Linked DNA regions of Homo sapiens: region 1 is linked to region 2. Evidence: promoter capture Hi-C in 16 types of primary human blood cells and fetal thymus (Javierre and others, 2016). All regions are on one chromosome and are shown on one strand. Each heading gives the region's core, a stretch centred on a gene start or on the middle of the fragment in contact. The rest is flanking DNA. Distances are from core to core; before and after follow the strand shown.

Region 1 (4,651 bases), core at 46-2,545, 370 kb after region 2:
AGAAAGAATCCAGATTTGATTTGATTTTACCCCTCAAAAGCCCTGAAGAATCTAGATTGTAGAGGCAGGCAGAGCCACATACGAGTCTTGGGTCTGCCACTTACTAGCCATGTGATGTGCAGAGGAGACCTGTTCTCAGAGCCTCAGTTTCCTCACCTAGGAAATAGGGTGATGATATCTACTGTATAGGGCAGGTGTTGTAGGAGTAAATAAGCTGAGCTACAGAAATCTCCCAGCCAACTGCCTGGTCCACCCAGGGACAGAAAACCACTCCTCTGCTCACACCCCTTCACTCACTCCTCCCTCTGCCTCAGGGCTCCACAAAGCCCTGGGTCCTCTGAAGCCTAGAAGGGCCAGGCCAGGCCCTGGGCTCCAGGAGCTCAGGAGGGGCTGTTACCTCATCCTCTTGCCGTGTGTGACTAAGGACGCTTGATACTTCTGCACGCACTCCTCCTGGAACACCTGCAGGAGTCTTTTGGCTAAATGACTGAAATTCACCCTAGAACGACAGAGAACCAAGGTGCAGATGAGCTGCCAGAACCACTATGCACAAGCCCACCATCCCTCAGTCTCCGTCAGTCTCCGTCACCACCTTGTCGTAAGTGCCCAAGCCCTGCGTCCACAGCAGGGCTATGTCTCTGGGAAAGGAGGAAGGACGGTCACACACTTGGATTGTGAAGGTTGCAGTGGCCAGCAAAGCCCACATCAACAGGGAGACGTGGGAGACACACAGGGGGTCCTCAGGGAACACACATGTGCTCAAGCTTAGTCCTCAGGAAAGGGAAGGGAAAGTGAGGCAGCCGTGGAAAGAAGGTGTGTGAGTGCGTGTGTGTGTGAGACAAAAAGGGGTCGGGGTGCTTGTAGAACTGGGGGAGTGAGTTCCCAGATAACCATTAAATCAGGGAGGGCCTCCTGGACGTGAGTGTGTCCGGGAAACATGGGAGACAGAGGAGCGGGGGGAGGCAGGGAAGGTTCAGGCAGAGGGCAGAAGCAGGAAGTGGTAAGTGGTGCATCAGTGAGGACAACTAGAGAAAAAAAAAGCCTGCAAACAGTCTTGTCCATACCAGAAGTAAATCCAGTTACTTCAAGATTGCATCTGAGAAGTCTCCCTCCAACTAAGCTATGCATACTCCCTCCCCTGGCCCCAGATAACCTGTTATCCCCAACTCTGCTCAGCTGCAGTCCGGGACAGGGCCCTTCACTGCCTCTCCTCTGGCGTTGAGAATCGCTCTGCCCTGAGGACACCCACCCTCCTGCCCACCCACCTGCCGGAGGACAGGCCACTCACTTATCCAGCTTGTGAATCTGCTCCTCGTTGTAGCCAAGCCCTGGAGGAAACAGACAGAACAGATGTCACCTATTCAATCAGTCAACGAAACAGTGTGCAGCAAAGGTCGAGAGACAGTTAAAAGATGAAGACGGCCCAGCCTGTGCTGCTTCACGGGAACTCACCGCCCAGCGGAGCAGGAGGGGCAGAGGAGTGAAGCTAGCACCGGAATAGCTGATTAGGACAAAGCCAGGGCCTCAAGAAGCCATGGGGAAATTGTGTGAGGGCCCCAGGGGAAGGCAGCCTGCAGTGCAGGGCCGGGGTGGGGACGTGGGGGATGCTTCAGGTGGGAGTTGGTGGATGAAGTGGGCTTAGAAGGAGGCTCGGTCAACCATAGCCCCTTATCCAGCACCCTCCCAGAGTGACTGATGCCTGCAGCTGGGTGGTCCCATCCCTGAATGTTCATGGGCGCTACCTGCAACGAGCTGGAGAAATCAGGCCACCACCTTCTACCTCCCCGCTCTGCCCAGCCACTTTTGCCAGAAAGGCTGAAGCTTTCATGGCCTTGGCTGCCTCCTGAAGGGCCCTAAGGCTCATGCACTAGGGAGATGCTGCCCCCTCCTGGTCTTCGCAGGAATGGGCCTCCAGGGTGGCGGCAGCCCCAAGATGAAATGATGATGGCGGTTCACTTCGAGGGCCTCCCCATCCCACTCCTCTCATAGCAGAGTCCCCCTCCTGGGCCCTGCACTCGGCCAGCTAAGAGCATGTGTGCAGTCCGAGAGACCTGGGACAAACCTCAGCCCTTCCTCCTGTTGGCAGGCGGCACTAGGCGAGTGATTTCACTTCGCTGAGCCTGTCTCCTTATCCATCACAGGTGCCACTTGGGAGTCCCGTGAGGCTCATGCGAGAGAGCCTGAAGACCACCGGGCATTTTAAAAAATGGTATCTTTCAACACGCTGGGTTTTAACAGTTAGGGGTTCATTTTTAATTTTATTAAAGGACTCTTAAAGACCAATAGAAGTAAAACTCCTTTGAGGCTGTAAAATGGGATAGTTAAAAGCAGCTGGACCTAGATTACTTGGGCTACTTAACCTTTCTGTGTCTTGGTTTTCTCATCTATAAAATGGGGAGGGTAATGATGCCTAGAGGTTTTGTTATTGTTGTTGTTTGAGACAGGGTCTCGCTCTTGCCCTGGCTGGAGTGCTGCAGTGGTGTGATCTTAGCTCACTGCAGTCTCGAACTCCCAGCTCCCAGGCTCAGGTGATCCTCCCACCTCAGCCTCCCAAGTAGTTAGGACTACAGGCGCATGCCCACGTCCAGCTAGTTTTGTTTATTTTTTGTAGAGACGGGGTCTTGCTATGTTGCCCAGGCTGGTCTTGAACTCCTGGGCCCAAGTGATCCTCCCGCTTCAGTTTTCCAAAGTGCTGAGATTACAGACATGAGCCACTGCACACAGCTCCATGTATGTGTGTGTGTGTATATATATATATATATATATATATATATATACACACACACACACACACACACACATATACACACATATATAAAATTTAGTTTCCCAATAGAGATGTGTTATAAATGTTATATATATGTGAATAATATATATATGAATAATATATATATGTGAATAATATATATATGAATTATATATATATATGTGAAATATAAAACAATGAAGTGATGGGAAAGCATCCTGTAGTCCCAGCTAGTCAGGAGCCTGAGATGGGAGGATGGCTTGAGCCCAGGAGGTTGAGGCGACAGTGAGCAGTGATCATGCCATTGTACTCCTGCCTGGGTGACAAAGGCCCTGTCTCAAATATATATATTAGCATGTAATCAATATAAACAGAATTGCTAAGGAAATAAGTTATATATTTATGTGTATATATACACGTGGGATTTTGAAGATAACACAAAAAGAATATAAGGTATTTCCTTAGTGATTTTGTTTATATTGATTACACGCTAAAATGACACTGGATATATTGGGTTGAATAACACATTAAAATTAATTTCACTTGTTTCTTTCTACTTTTTAAAAATTGGCTACTAGAAGACTTAGAATTACATACGTGTCTGGCATTATATTTCTATTGGACAGTGGTTTTTAGATAATCCCAAGGAGAGAAGAGAATTTGGCAATAAAGCCCAAGACCTTCAGCCTACAGATTAGGAAATGCTTGGGGCCTGGGAGAGGAGGGGGAGGTTTGGTTCCTGGTGTGTTAGTTCCCCAACCTGAGGAGTCAACTGGAGCCTCCGCAGGCTCCCTCCAACCCCCTCACCAGCCCTCCCTGGGTCCCACCCTTGCACTACCCCACAATGGCAGTCACTTTGGACAAGCAGCTTCCCACCCCCGAGCCTGTAAATGGGCTGCCCCTGCCACAGCATCCTTGTGAGGATTAATGGATCAAGCAGCCAAAATGCCTGACCCAGTGACTCAAAATGGGACTTCTCCTGACCCCCCCTTTTCTGGAAAACCTGACTGTCTCAGTGTCCCAAGGACACAACGGATAGTGACATTCTATACTTTAAAGTGCCCTGCCAAGGTGCGAGATCTCTTTCCAGGACCACCTCTCCTACAGCACCCAGGTCCCGGCCCACTGGATCCCCCAACCATGTGATCCAAGTCTCTCATGTGGCAACAGGCAGGCATGTAAAGGTTTCATGTCCCCCACTGGCCTGCAGGCAGCTTGCAGACAGGGGCCTTGCCCCTAGAGCAGCTGCACAGAACCATCCGCTTAGTGGGCCTCCAAGAACCACCAGCTGGAGGTTAGCGGCCACTTAGCTGGAGGTTAGTGGCCACTGGTAGCACCAGTGAAAAGGAAGAAAGGCGAAAGAAGGGAGACAGAGGAGAGAGAAGGGGCATCTGCCCTCCCCGGGCTCACCTGGCCTCATCCTAGACTTCTTGAACTGTTTGTAGATGAAGTTCATCTTGTCCAAACAGCACTGAATCTGCTGGATGCTGTGGGCAGGAGACAGGGACCAGGTGTTGGAAGAATCTAATAGCACAGAGGAAAGAGGGAGGGAGGGGAAGGGTGGCAGTGGAATAGGGGAGGAGCCTCACAGCCACAGTTTTGGGGGATCAGTCTGGGAGTGGAGGTGGCTGTCCCGTCTCTAGGCTTATTTGAGACCCCGTACAGTCAGCCAGCCGTCTCTCGTTCTCATGGCTTATTCTTCCTCTCTCACACACATGCACTCGCAGCATGAGTTAAGTAGGAGATAAGAGAGACAGGAAGCCAAGCAGGACGGGCAACAGGAACGTGGCCTTTACTACCTGAGAAGTTGTGAGACTAGGCCCTGGGAAGGAGCCTAGGCCCCTGAAACCTAAGAGCGTGTCTGGCAGTGACAGCTGGGGATAGAGGGGAGCTAAAATCTCTCTC
Region 2 (4,926 bases), core at 1,083-3,582:
CTAACTCTGAGAGAAGGAGCCAGCACCTTCCTGAAAGTGATGCCCAGGCTGAGTCTTTAAAGGATGAGTAGGATTTAGTCAGTGAGGAGTGAAATCCAGGCCTTCCTGGCAGACATGAGAAGGTGTGAAGGTGAGAAATTGAATGGCATGGGTGTGTGTGTGAAATTGTGAGTGTTTTCAAAGGTACATAGAAGTGTGTGAACATTGTAAAACTATTGCCTCTGGTTTGTGCAGCTAAAAGATCCAGATGTCACTGTAGTGACTTGATGGAATCATGGCCATTCCCTTTCCATTTCCAGAGCATCACCCAGAGAGGGTACTCCTCTAGAGCCTGGATGGGTGTCCCCTGGGTTAAAGCAAGGGCTGGTCCTCATGATTTCAGAGGGCTATGAACCTGAAGGCTACAGGATGTCTAACAGTGAATAACCATCCCACCTACCTATGATCTCAGTTCTTAAAACACACCCATCCCAATCAATGCCAAAGTCGCATATACCTTTTCAAAGTGACTCAGAATCTGGCTGTATTTCTTCATTGCTTCCTCCCCACAATGGCATGTCATGTGGGCATGCTGAAAAGGACCCAAAGAATAATAGATTATATTACAGATTCTGATTTTTTGCCATTGACATGAAGCAGGCAGAAACTCTACTCTTTCACCCACAACCCTGAGGATGCTTATTCCTATAGAAAAGCTCTTTCAGACCTCACATTTGGAATCACTAAGTTCATCATCAGCTAGGAGAGGAAGCCACCTTTTAGGCTCAAACATGGAACTCATCACTTCTTTTTTAGAAATAGGCAGGCAGTACTGAAGGCATTTGCCATCCCCGTACCCCATCTGGCCTCCCCACAACCCCCAGCTGTAGTCTAGGAGCTCTATCCCAGAGCTCTTTGAGCCCCCATGAGAAAAAAAAAAAAAAGAATTGAATTCCTAGGTCCTATTCAGACTATATTCTGAGGTCAAGCTCAATGGTCTACTAATTGACTGCCTAGACAGAGGACGCACTAATATACTGTAGGATACCTCACCTACAGAAAAAGTATAATTTCAAAGACAACAGAGTTATCATTAATATCAAATAGTTAGCATCTTATAGTTCTTTAGACTTTGCAAAGTACTTTTTGCCTAGAGCATATACCGAAAAGTCAATAAAACTGAGTTCTTATTACCTAGTCACATGTCTCAACACAGATTATTAGAACTTTTGGACTCAGTTTCTCCATCCATTAAATGGAGGTAGGAAAGAGAGTTTAGTTGCTAAGCCATTGAAGCTGTGTGCTGAGATGCATCCTGTCACCCAAGACCCACACTCACACAGAGCCGGAGGTCCTTCTTGATGGTAAGAAAGGAATTGGCGAGGCTGCTGATCTTCCGGAGAGTATAATGGTCAGGGGTCTGGTAGTTTTTAAATACCCTGTCCAGATAGAGTCTTAGCAAATGGCGCAGGAGGCAGCATCGATTCGCAGGCTGCAAAAAACCACAGGTATATTGGTGAGGGGAAAGGGGAGAGCAGAGACAAGACCAGGGTGATGGAGATGCTCCCACTCCACTCCTCCTCCCAGAGTTTGTCTGGGCCAAGCACATACCTTTGTGTCTTGCAAAGACTCAGTCCTCCTTAAGATTCTGATGTCAATGTTTCCATCTTTGGCTTGCTAAACAGAAGAAGACAAAACAAGCAAGGATGAGTCAGTGCCTGCTGCCAGGGTCTTCAATATCAAGACTTCTCATCCACTCCCTGCCAAGAACTAGTGGGAGGTGTCCTTTCCCAAAACATTTTAAATATTTGAACTACAGTTATTTCTTTGGAATACATCCCCCGGGTAAGGAATCCCCAGCCTGCCTCTTTTTATGATTACACTGCCAGTACTGCCAGGAAAGAGAAACGGACAAGGAAGGAAGAGAAAAGGCTTTCAGGAGAGGTAGATACCCGCTTACGTACCACACTGCCCCGTATCTCAGAAAATCCATTTCGTATTTCCTGAAGGTTTGTGGCGATCACACAGCTTCCCAAATTGAGTGTCTTCAGTCCAGTGGAAGGAGTCCATAGGAGATAAAACGCAGCAGAGAGAAGGCTGAAGGCAAGACTAGAGGCTTTCATCTTAGGCCTGAAATCTGGAGACCACAGGAGCTAGGAATTCAAAGAAGAGAGCATGACTTACTGAGTTTCCCCTCCTCCAAGTGTCCACGGGGTGAGGGGTGGGGGGTCAGGGGAAGAGAACAGCCTTATCTGGCCTCAGACAGTGTGGCCCATCCACGCAACTTACTAAGAAAAACTGCCAAGCCTCCCGTGAAGAGAAGATTTCAGGTCTGAGTTCAGAGTCTGAGTGCGAGTTGGTGGCACAGGTCGTGGCTCCTTTATTCTGTCCCCATCCTGGCTCCGCCGTTAGTGCCCAGCAGGTAAGGCCTGGAACAGCAGGCACTTGCAGTGAATAGATAGAGAATGACATTTCAGGGGAAATGTCAAAACTTGTTTTGGGGAATTGACGCATATAGCCTCCCCTTCCAGAAAGCCAACGTAGCTCACCCTTCTGGTCCCCTCAGACCCACAGGGGAACTGGGGAGAAATCGAATCTCACAGAAGCTGTGGCTGCGCCATCGAAAACACCTAGGGGGAAATTGTCTGGATTTTATGGCCACCCACAGGGCAGAGAAACTGAGCTCTGTTTGGCATTTGTCTGAGATCAGATAGGTTATTTGAGGGTAACAGATTCGCTTAAGCCCCAGAGGCAAATAGAAAGTCAATGATTTCATAACAAGCCTACTGCCAGGGAAAGGCAAGACGTGATGGGCAATCAGCCCGATTCCACCTAACACTCGTGTCTGGGACTCCACAGCGCCCTCTGCAGGAGGACTGTAGTCAGGCACTCCTGGGTGGATTCGAGAGTACACGCTTTCCTGGACCTGCAACTCAGGTCCTAGACCAAGCAAATGGTCCCAAAAGTCAGAGAAGAAAGGCAATGACGGAACTCATTTATTCTTGGGCGAGCCTCCTCAGTAAGAGAGCAGGTTAGGGTGTTTGCTGAGTTTTAAGATAAAATAATAATGGGCTGAGGTTAGGGTAAAACAATTGAGGCACTCATTTTAGGTGCAAAATTTAAGGGAGCACTAAAAAACCTCAGTCATCAAGATAAAAATATTTTAGTGCAATATCAAAATGAATTAAAAAGCTTATGACAAACAAAATATCAAAATTTTATATAAAGACAAAATTCGACAGTGCCATGCTGAGCCATATTGAAGCAAAAGGAAAAATTTGTACCACTATTCACATGTTTTCATGTTTCATTCTTAATGGTTAACTTTGTTTCTCAAAAGCATATGATGAAAATATTATTGATGAGTTTCCTTCCCTTAAAACCAGGACAGTAAAATTATAATAAATTTTGTTTGGGGCAGAAATAAAATATTTAAACTTAAAGTCATGAGTCGTAATAAACCTACTTTTTAATTTTTCAATTTTCTCAAATACTTTAATATTTTTGAAAGAAATAAATACATAAAATTTATAAAGACATATATATATACACACACATCATATATATATATGCACACATCCATATATATATGGCTGGCTCCATAGCTTGGCACAGCACTGATAATCATTATCACTTACTGAATTTTTCCTATATGCCAGGCAATATGCTAGACATTTTTTACATTTGTGACCACTCGAGATACTGTCAAATGTAGGAAAAGGAAAAAAGCAAACCAAACCCAAAAGAATCAAAGAGGACTCTGGGTTTGGAGACAAGAGAACTGGGTCCAAATAAATCCTCGCTTTACTAGTTTCCATTGATGTGGGTCATTCCAGTTTACCCAGCACTGAGGTTGGGGGGCAGGGAATGGTTCCTGAAATACGAAAATTTCAGTTTTAAAACTGGAAAAACCACAGGTAAACTGGAATGAGTTGGCCACCCTACCTCTATGTGACCTTGGACAAGTCAACTCACCTCTGAGTTTAATTTTCTTAACCCCAAAATGGTGATAATTAAACTTAACCCAGAAATTGTTTTGATTTTAAATCGATTATTTAAATACAATAATCTATGATTTATACACTTAGCACAGAGCAAGTGATCAATTCATTTTAAGTAGAGATTGATGTTAGTTGTCCTGAACTAACAATTTGATGAGCATTTAATGAGCACCCGCTGTCTTGAATGTTGTGCTAGGTACTGAAGTACAAAGATAAACATGATGATTATTTGTCCTCAAAGAGATTTTGTCCTCGTGGAAAAGGGTCCTTTAGATGTGACCTTGAACATACCTGGGTAAATGATTAGGAGAAGTAGGTGATCCTCACAACAACGTGAGCAGTGTCAGTAGAGGGTAAGATCTCTTACCTGAGCTCAGGAAAGGCTGCTGCTTCTGGTCTCCTAGGAGCCTGTTTCAAGTTGAAAGGCTTCCCATTATTTATATCTGTATATACATGTCACATGAAGGAAGTGAGCTCAGGCAGGTGAGGGCTGGAACTCCCTTGGAATTTCTCTGGTGGCATTGTTCTTCCTCAAGCACTACAGCAGCTTAATTGCAGGACAGATTACCCCAACACCTTCCTCCTGGAAGAAGCACTGCCTGAGGGGATTACTGGTTGTAGCTGTGGATAAAGGATGTGCCTCCTTCTGGCTCCACCTTCCTGCTTGATAAAATGATGGATAGAGAAGATCTGAGTTACTGAACTGGAAGAGAATTCTGGGGGATTCTCCTGCTCTCTCCTCTAAACCCAGTTCCCCTTAACCAAGTTTCTCCACAACTCCAGACACTGTGGGCTCATTCCTGCTGTTTTTCCTCAGCCCTTGCTATCCCCACCATTGCTCTCCAACATGGCCACCCTTCCCTCTAGTCATCATTAAAGATGAAACCCAAATCCTTTATTCCTGAACAACTCTGGGCTATACCAATCCCTCCCTTCTCTGACTTCC

The links. Contacts are between HindIII fragments. The CHiCAGO score rates a contact against its expected background, and 5 or more counts as called.
Region 1: a fragment that was not itself captured here is called in contact with the fragment with the promoter of IL20 in region 2 in 1 of 17 cell types (activated CD4 T cells); the score reaches 6.9 in activated CD4 T cells.

What each region holds. Positions count from the first base shown.
Region 1 is chr1:206,487,496-206,492,146 of GRCh38, reverse strand. It overlaps IKBKE (inhibitor of nuclear factor kappa B kinase subunit epsilon), which reads right to left. Exons shown (of 22, transcript NM_014002.4): 16 at 4,157-4,233; 17 at 1,289-1,328; 18 at 398-499. It overlaps IKBKE-AS1 (IKBKE antisense RNA 1), which reads left to right. Exons shown (of 2, transcript NR_172918.1): 2 at 1-1,031. Among named protein-coding and RNA genes, the nearest start is that of IKBKE-AS1, 7.9 kb to the left of the region's middle. The HindIII fragment of the contact is 1,057 bases long and covers 767-1,823 here.
Region 2 is chr1:206,863,029-206,867,954 of GRCh38, reverse strand. IL20 (interleukin 20) reads right to left here and starts at 2,332. Exons shown (of 6, transcript NM_018724.4): 1 at 2,269-2,332; 2 at 1,944-2,132; 3 at 1,591-1,656; 4 at 1,319-1,471; 5 at 497-571. The coding sequence starts at 2,102. The HindIII fragment of the contact is 6,531 bases long and covers 1-3,173 here.